Regions from separate parts of the Homo sapiens genome. Here region 1 is linked to region 2. The links are contacts of gene promoters, found by promoter capture Hi-C in blood cells and fetal thymus (Javierre and others, 2016). All regions are on one chromosome and are shown on one strand. Each heading gives the region's core, a stretch centred on a gene start or on the middle of the fragment in contact. The rest is flanking DNA. Distances are from core to core; before and after follow the strand shown. Region 1 overlaps CNNM2 (cyclin and CBS domain divalent metal cation transport mediator 2). Region 2 holds the start of BORCS7-ASMT (BORCS7-ASMT readthrough (NMD candidate)).

Evidence for each region. Contacts are between HindIII fragments. The CHiCAGO score rates a contact against its expected background, and 5 or more counts as called.
Region 1: a contact is called between a fragment that was not itself captured here and the fragment with the promoter of BORCS7-ASMT in region 2, in 1 of 17 cell types (erythroblasts). The highest score is 5.9, in erythroblasts.

The regions. Positions count from the first base shown.
Region 1 is chr10:103,064,653-103,069,126 of GRCh38, reverse strand. It overlaps CNNM2 (cyclin and CBS domain divalent metal cation transport mediator 2), which reads right to left. Exons shown (of 8, transcript NM_017649.5): 5 at 405-498. Among named protein-coding and RNA genes, the nearest start is that of NT5C2, 130 kb to the left of the region's middle. The HindIII fragment of the contact is 4,469 bases long and covers 628-4,474 here.
Region 2 is chr10:102,851,091-102,855,690 of GRCh38, reverse strand. BORCS7-ASMT (BORCS7-ASMT readthrough (NMD candidate)) reads right to left here and starts at 1,481. Exons shown (of 15, transcript NR_037644.1): 1 at 1,264-1,481. It overlaps BORCS7 (BLOC-1 related complex subunit 7), which reads right to left and starts at 1,432. Exons shown (of 5, transcript NM_001136200.2): 1 at 1,264-1,432. The coding sequence starts at 1,404. RefSeq lists enhancers at 1-89, 1,097-1,286, 886-1,398, 1,357-1,416, 1,399-1,912. The HindIII fragment of the contact is 18,616 bases long and covers 1-4,600 here.

The DNA.
Region 1 (4,474 bases), core at 1,613-4,112, 210 kb before region 2:
GTGACAAGCACGACACAGAGAAAGGAGCCAGCCTCTGTGTAACACACACAGTGTCTCCATTTATGCAAAGTTCAAAAGCAGGCAGAATTAGGCTGAGAAGTCAAGAAAGCAGTTACTCTGGGGGACCAGTGACTAAAAGGGAGCGTGATGGGAGTTCTGTGGGGCTGGTAACGTCCTGTCTCTTGGTCTGGGTGCCACTTTACACGTGTTCAGTTTGTGAGAATTCATGGAGGTATATACTTAGGATTTGTGCAGATTTTCTGCATATATGATATACTTCAAAAAAAAAGTTCAAAAAGGAAGTGAATGGGGTCAGCTGGCAGATACAGAAAGCAAGATGAAAGGAGAGGGGCCTTACTTCCTAACACGTGGTCCTGCCCTATGCGGCTGGGAACCAAACATACCTGGAGAGGCTGTCAGGGCCATCACGCCATAGTATGAGAAGGCGCTCGCTTCAAACTTCATACCTTCTTTCCCAGCTTCAACTTCCACTTTCCCCTGTGGAGAGAAAAGGCAGGTATTTTCAGTCCAGTTGCAAAAGCCTACTGGCACACTCTGTACAATATTTGGTCCTTCCTTAGATTTTTGTCTGATTTCTTTTCCCAACACTATCGAGGGAGTAAAGCTTCAGCTCATCTTTCCCACTGAGAGGAGGGGGCTCATTCGCTTTAAATATGAAAACTGGATTTGGCTGATTATACAGAGGTGACAGTGTAAATGTGATGTTTATTTTTAAAATAATTCTTAAATTAAAAACTTAAAATACAGTTTTCTTTGTAGAGATAGATCTCCTTATGTTACCTAGGCTGGTTTTGAACTCTTGAGCTCAAATAATCCTGTCTCACTGTCTTGGCCTCCCAAAGTGCTCCCAAAGGGATTACAGGCGTGAATCACTGTGCCTGGCCTGTGATGTTTACTTTCTGTGAGTCCACTTAGTATCTTCCCAATATCTGTAGTTCTTGGATTCTTCAGGAGGCCTCCAGCAATGGAAAGGTGGTGCTCTTGCTCCATCAGTGGGACCAGCACCAAGATGATGCTGGGCGATGGCTGCCTAGGCTGTCCAAGGAGCCAGGGCCGGGGCTGAATCAGGGTCAAGGGCCGACATGGTTTGTGGCCATGGAACAGAGAGGAATAACCTGGGTAGAACCCACTCTGTCTCACGAGCACGGTGTCCTGACCACTGAGCAGACCCCTCGCAGGCTGGTAACTTGCTGTCTACACTCCTGGAGGCACTTAAATTCCATGGGATTTTTCTCCTGTCTTGGAAAAGCAGTTTGAAGAAAGTCTCCTTCCATTAAAATAAAGTTCCCCTCTCCTCCCCCTAAGATTTTCCCTTTTCTTCACTTTCGCTAACTTGTCGACAACTTCTTCTTTACCTTGATGAGTTCTTTTGGGATAGAGTGTCTTATTCATCCCTGGAACCCCAGGGTCCACTATAATCCCTGCATGGTAGGTGCTCATTGTGTTTTCTGGGCTACTGAAATGCTCTAAGTCAGTTTCACTTCTAGTTTCTCAGGCCAAGGGTCAGAAATGCTCTTGTTCCCATTACTACAACTGTGTGAGGCATCCTTTACAATGGGTGAACAAAAATTAAGATGCCATGTATTGAAAAGGAATTGTGCTAACACATCAGTGTTTTATGAATTCATTTAATGTGCACAACTCGATGCAGCAGACAAATCATTGCCCTCCTACAAATCAGGGGAGGGGGGATCAGCAAGATTTAGTAAAGAACAAGCTCTTCATCAGGATGCTAGGAGGCTGGGAGCAGTGGCTCATACCTGTAACCTCAGCACTTTGGGAGACCGAGGCAGGCAAATTGCTTGAGCCCAGGAGTTCAAGATCAGCCTGGGCAACACAGCAAGACCCCATCTCTACAAAAATTAGCCAGGCATGGTGGCGTGCACCTGTAGTCTCAGCTACTTGGGAGGATTACTTGAACCTGTGAGGCAGTGAGCCATGATCACGCCACTGCACTCCAGCCCAGGCCACAGAATGAGACCCTGTCTCAAAGAAAAAAAAAAAAAAAAGATGCTATGCCACCTGATGCAAACTATCATTTTATATTAAGTTTCCAATTACAAAAGGTCTTTCTTGGGCCATAGCTTCAGGAGAAGAACTACTGCCTCTCAGGTTTTCCTGCTCAACAGAAATGACAGTTCACCAGTCCCTAGCCAATTATCTTGCCGTATAAACTTACAACTCCACCCATGATATAAAATCCACCTGCAAATGGGCAGGTGCTACAAACCTTCCCCACACAGGCAGGGCCCTAGAGATGACACTGTGGAGTCGGAGATGACAGCCGTCATCCCCCACGGGCTGACCATGCAGCAGGGACAGGCGAGCACATGAGAAGCAACAGCCCACATGGCACACAAGAGCTCAGCATGAGGAAAAAGACATTGGGAACAGAAGCTCCCAGAAAAATCTTACTTCTTGTTCTTATATAAAGACAAATCGCATACAGGAAGGAAAAGCTGTGGATGACCAAGAGAAAGGGACAGCATGAGGGAGGCCCAGGGTGGCGGCAGCGGCCGGCCAGGCTCTGTGTTTGCAGGGAGGAGTGAGGGCACATCTGGAAGGCAGCTGGGTGAGCAGATCCCCAGGCAATGGGCTGGCAGGGTTGGGTCCTGGGTGGAGGAACAGAGTCTGCTTCCACGAGGGTGGCAGCCACAGGCCTGGGGAGGGAGTGCGGTAGAGAAGCTATTGATAAGGGACCAGCATGATTCGAAGAAGCCATCAGGGAGACAGGAGTATAGGAACCAGAGGCCCATTGGGAGGGGCTGAGGAACAGGGACACCACGAGTGGGAGAAAGAAGGTCTGGAGAGAGGTCAGGGCTGGAGATGGGGACCTGAGACAGGAAAAGGACCGAAGCTCAGCCCGTGACTGAGAGCAGCAGGGAAAACTGAAACCATAACAGGACCATGGCAGAGCCTGAAAAGGGAGGCCCAGACCACGGCACCATGGCAGAAGAGCAGGGGTCAGGAGAATTCCAGGGGCAAGGACGGTCAGGGCCTCAAGGTGCTCAAGGCCGCCGGGAGCAATCACTGACCACAGGCCGCTGGGGGCTGCAGGAGGCTTTCCTACCCTACAGAGGAATCAGTGGGAGGACAGTGGCCCCGGCAGGAGAGGGACAGGCAGCAGGACATCCCCATCTGTGGGGCCATGGGAAGGCTGTTGAAAATTCAGGACTCTGGGTGCTGGGGAAGTCCCTGAAGTAGGGTCCCTTCAAAGAGGAGGGGAGGAACAAGGTTCAGAGATAGCAACACACACAGGAGTAGCCACGGTACATGTCTCCCCAATTCCGTGTCCATCTCTTCCTGAACTGACATGTATGTGCTGGCTGCAAATGTCTGCTTTGTAGTTTGTAACCTCAAGAGTGGCTGCGTGACCAGCTCTGAGCCTGACCCTCCATGCAGGAAATCAGGAGGAAGAGTCAAATGCAGTGGAGCCTCATGGTGACTTCCGTTCCTGGGTGTCTCCAGTTATCTGGAGCATTTGTTGTACAAGTTACAGGGCCTTTTGTGTTGTGTCCCTGCAGACAGATGCCAGGTCACTATTCTTTGGAGATAAAACTGTCAGGACTAGTAGGGCAGGCACAACCAAAACAAGACTGTAAAACAGAAAACTGTACATCTTTTTTTCTATTTAATCCATAGGTTCACACCATCTGTCTCTTGGAAGCGTGCGGTGGTTCCACTCTGAGGCCTGAAGCTCTGCCTTGCACACTCAAAGCAGAGATTCCCAGATTACCGACTCTGGCTCCGGCCCTCGGGCATTCTCATTTAACAATATAGGTGAATCTGGGCATCAGGATTTTATTTAAAAAGATTTCCGGGTGATTCTAGCAAGCCACAAACTTTGGGAATCATTGCTTTAAGGCTCTGTCTGTGAACAATGGCCCCAGCCCTGGAAACTGTGTGCCCTGGCCTCTCAAGGGACTCCCTCAAAGGCAGTGTAGCTGAGTCAACTGATTAAGCAAGGGCGGCTGCAAGACTCAAAACTCCAGACCACTGCCATTCCAGCTGATGCTTCCTCTGTCCTTCCAGACAGGATCCCAGGCAGGGGAGGATCTGCCATCTTCCCTCTGGACTCCATCTAGTTGAGATTCACTGCTGCGGGGTGGATATGCTAAGCTCAGTGATTCCTAGACATTTCCATCCTAACGGCCAGTAAGACGCACCTCTACAGAGACAGATACAGGGAAAGATACGGGGTTGCCAAATTTTTTTTTCATAAAGATGGTTTTAAAATTTATTTTTTCAGACAGGGTCTTACTCTGTCACCCAGGCTGGAGTGCAGTGGTGCAATCATGGCTCACCGCACCGGTGGTGAGAATCCTGCAGCCTTGAACTCCTGAGCTCAAGCAACACTTGTAACTCAGCCTCCTGAGTAGCTGGCACTACAGGTGTGCACCACCATGCCCAGCTAATTTTTCTATTTTTTTATAGAGACGGGGTCTCACTATGT
Region 2 (4,600 bases), core at 232-2,731:
CCACCTGATTTTTTTCTGTTTCACTTGTTTATCGTCTGTCTCTTCACTAAAATGTAAACTTCCCAAGTAGAGGGATTTAGTTTTGTTTATTCCGTGTACCTAGAGCAGTTCCTGGCACATAGCAGACACCCAATAAGTATTTGTTAAATGAATACTGTGGAATGAGTTTTTTACACATGAAATTCTCAGCTAATCAAACAAAATAGCTATGTGGAGACTGCTCAAGAAGCAATGCTGCCAGGAGCGGTGGCTCACGCCTGTAATCCCAGCACTTTGGAAGGCTGATGCAGGCAGATCATGAGGTCAAGAGTTCGAGACCAGCCTGGCCAACATGGTGAAACCTCATCTCTACTAAGAATACAAAAATAGCCAGGTGTGGTGGTGCGTGCCTGTAATCCCAGCTACTCAGGAGGCTGAGGCGGGAGAATCACTTGAACCCAGGAGGCGGAAGTTGCAGTGAGCCAAGATCACACCACTACACTCCAGCCTGGCGACAGAGCTAGACTCCGTCTCAAAAAAAAAAAAAAAAAAGGAAAAGTACTTCCTTCAATTAGTCATTCTAAAGACTTCATGAATTAAACTCCATAAAAGACAACAGTGTCTAGCATATATAAAATGCTAAATAAATGTACGTTTATTATGATGAATATGTTGAATATTTACAGGTGGTTAACTATAAACACCTCTAGTTGAAAATATATATAATATATATTACATATATTATATATAATATATATGTATATTATATATGTAATATATACATACACATTATATATAATATATACGTATATATATTATATAATACGTAATATATAATACTTATATATATAATTCGCCTCCCAGGTTCAAGCAATTCTCCTGCCTCAGCCTCCCAAGTAACTGGGATTACAGGCATGTGCCACCACGCTCGGCTATATATTTTTTTAATTATTATTTTTTAGTAGAGACGGGGGTTTCTCCATGATTGTCAGGCTAGTTTCGAACTCCCGACCTCAGGTGATCCGCCCGCCTCGGCCTCCCAAAGAGCTGTTTTAAAGCACAGGTTCCCATGGCATCGCTTCTTCCCCCAACCCTCACACACTGTCCCTAACCAAAGAGACTGCACACCCCAGAATGCAACACGCGCCTCCGCGAAGAAGACCTACTCATAGCAAGTACTTCACAGCCTACAATTCCCAAGATGCAACGCGACCTCCTTCCCACAGCAACGAAAGACTGCGACTCCCCGGACTATCAGGCCGGGAGAGTCCACTTCCAGCTCACCTCGGAGCTCCGGGAGCCTTTCAGCACCTGCTTGGTGAGCGCGATTACGTCAGTACCACAGGTGGTCACCTTCTCCGTGAGAAGCCCCTTCACGGACTGACCGAACCGCGCTTGAGACTCTGGCGTTCCAGTCGCCATCATTTCAGTTAGCGAACGGTTGCGCACTGACGATGGTGAGTCGCCGGGGCCAAAAGACAAGCAAAGCGGAAGGAAAAGAGGCGTCTCTTCCTCCATGGGAAAAGGAAGGGACGCATGCGCCTGATGGAGGTTGACCTTTGCTCACTAAACTCATGAACTATTCATTGATATCCTGAGGAAAACAGGGTCCAGGCAAACATCTCTGGAGGGGATGGAGGACAGTTTCATTGACTCTATGGTTCAGAATCGGAAAGCCTGCGGCAGGGCATGGCGGCGCACGCCTGAAATCCCAGCCCTTTGGGAGACCCAGGCAGGAGGATCACCTGAGCCTGAGAGTTCCAGACCACCCTGGGCAACATAGCGAAACTCCATCTCTTTAAAAATAAAATAAAATTAAAATTAATACAAATAATTAAAAAGAATCAGAAGGCCCGGATTACAGTCCCAATGCTACCATTTAGCAGTGTGTGGCTGCAAATTACTCAGCTTCTGTCTTATATTCCTCATCTGTTAAACAGAAGTAATAATGTTTCCAAGGGGTTATGAGAATATCATTCCATTCATATATATATACACATATATATATATACACATATATATACACATATATACACATATATACATATATATACATATATATACACATATATATATACATATATATTTTTTTTTCCCCAGAGTCTTGTTCTGTTGCCTAGGCCTTTTTTTGATTAATTGAGACAAGGGGCCAGGCGTGGTGGCTCACGCCTGTAATCCCAACACTTTGAAAGGCCAAGGTGGATCACTTGAGGTCAGGAGTTCAAGGCCAACCTATCCATATGGTGACACACCTGTAGTCCCAGCACTTTGGGAGGCCGAGGCAGAAGGGTCACTCAAGGCCAGGAGTTCAGTATCAGCAGCCTGGGCAACATAGCGATAACTTGTCTCATTTTATTTAATTTTATTTTATTTTATTTTTTTTTTGAGATGGAGTCTCGCTTTGTTGCCCAGGCTGGAGTGCAGTGGCTCGATCTCAGCTCACTGCAACATCCGCCTCCTGAGTTCAAGTGATTCTCCTGCCTCAGCCTCCCAAGTAGCTGGGATTACAGGTGCTTGCCACCAGGCCCGGCTAATTTTTGTATTTTTAGTAGAGATAGGGTTTCACCATGTTGGCCAGGCTGGTCTCAAATTCCTGACATCTAATGATCCACCAGCCTTGGCCTTCCAAAATGGTGGGATTACAGGCGTGAGCCACTGCACCTGGCCTCATTCCATTCAATTTTAACAAACATTTCATGAACTAAATACCAGACACTGTACTAGGCTGGGGATAGAGAAAGAAATGAAATACAGTTCTTGTCTCTGTGGAACTCCCAGGCTGATGAGGCAGATAGGCCTGTAAACAAATGAAGAAGGAAAAACAATCTAATAGAAAAATTGGCAAAAGGCACAAGTAGGCAATTCAAAAAAAAAAATCAACTGGCTGATAAATGTGAAAAATGCTCAACATCACTAGTAATTTTTATTGATAACCTCTTTATTGTATTAATACCAAACTGATGGTAACCACCTTGTAAGTGAATTAATATGTAAAATATTTCAAGTAGGCCAGGTGCCGTGGCTCACGCCTGTAATCCCAGCACTTTGGGAAGTTGAGGCGGGAGGATCACCTGAGGTCAGGAGTTCGAGACCAGCCTGCCCAACATGGTGGAACCCCGTCTCTACTAAAAATACAAAAATTAGCCGGGCGTGGTGGTGGGCACCTGTAGTCCCAGCTACTCTGGAGGCTGAGGCAGGAGAATTTCTTGAACCCGGGAGGCAGAGGTTGCAGTGAGCCGAGATCATGCCACTGTATTCCAGCCTAGGCGACAGAGTGAGACTCTGTCTCAAAAAAAAAATAAAATATTTCAAGTAGCTCCATTTCTTTTTTAGTTAATAAAAGATGTGAGAATGTTATTGTATTGAAAATTTTGTTCAAAATTACCTGTATTCAATATCAACATTACTTCCTCTTCCAAGTGTCTAGATTCATATGTCTCCGTTGAATCTCATTTACTGTTTACTTTTTGTCCTTAATAAACTTTATTGAGTTTATGTGCATGAATTTATGTTATAATTTATGTACAATAACAACATTATTTTTTGAGATGGAGTCTTGCTTTGTCACCCAGGCTGGAGTGCAGTGGCACGATCTTGGCTCACTGCAACCTTTGCCTCCCTGGTTCAAGCGATTCTCCTGCCTCAGCCTCCCGAGTAGCTGGGATTACAGGTGCCCACTATCACGCCTGGCTAATTTTTGTATTTTTAGTAGAGATGGGTTTCACCATGTTGGCTAGGCTGGTCTTGAACTCCTGACCTCAGGTGATCCACCTGCCTTGGCCTCCCAAAGTGCTGGGATTACAGGCGTTGAGCCACCACGCCCGGCCTGCACAATAACCACATTCTTTAAAGTGTACGATTTGATGAGTGTGACAGACGTATACATCTGTGAACCACCACCACTATTAAGATACAGAACAGGGTGGGAGCAGTAGCTCATGCCTGTATTCCCAGCACTTTGGGAGGCCGAGGCAGAAAGATTGCTTGAGGCCAGGAGTTCAATATCAGCAGCCTGGGCAACATAGCGATAACTTGTCTCATTTTATTTATTTATTTTTATTATTTATTTACTTTATTTTGAGACGGAGTCTTGCCCTGTCACCCAGGCTGGAGTACACGGGTGTGATCTTGGCTCACTGCAACCTCCGCCTCCCGGGTTCAAGCGATTCTCCTGCCTCAGCCTCCCAAGTAGCTGGGACTACAGGTACGCACCATCGCGCCCGGCTAATTTTTGTATTTTTAGTAGAGGTGGGGTTTCACCATGTTGGCCAGGCTGGTCTTGAACTCCTGACCTCATGATCGGCCCACCTTGGCCTCCCAAAGTGCTGGGATTACAGACATGAGCCACCACGCCCGGCCCCTTGTCTCAATTAAAAAAAAAAAAAAAAAGATGCAAAACATTTCATCACCCTCAGAAGTTTCCAAGTGCCCTTTAAAGTCCATCTCTCCTTCTCTGTCTCACCCGGGCAACCACTGCCCTGCTTTTGGGAACTATAGATTAATTTGCATTTCTAGAATGGCAAATAAATAGCATCATACAGGCTTTTTTGAGGGGAGGGGGGTCTTTTTTTGTCTGGCTTCATTCTTGCAGCATGATGATTTGACATGTTGTTGTGCATAT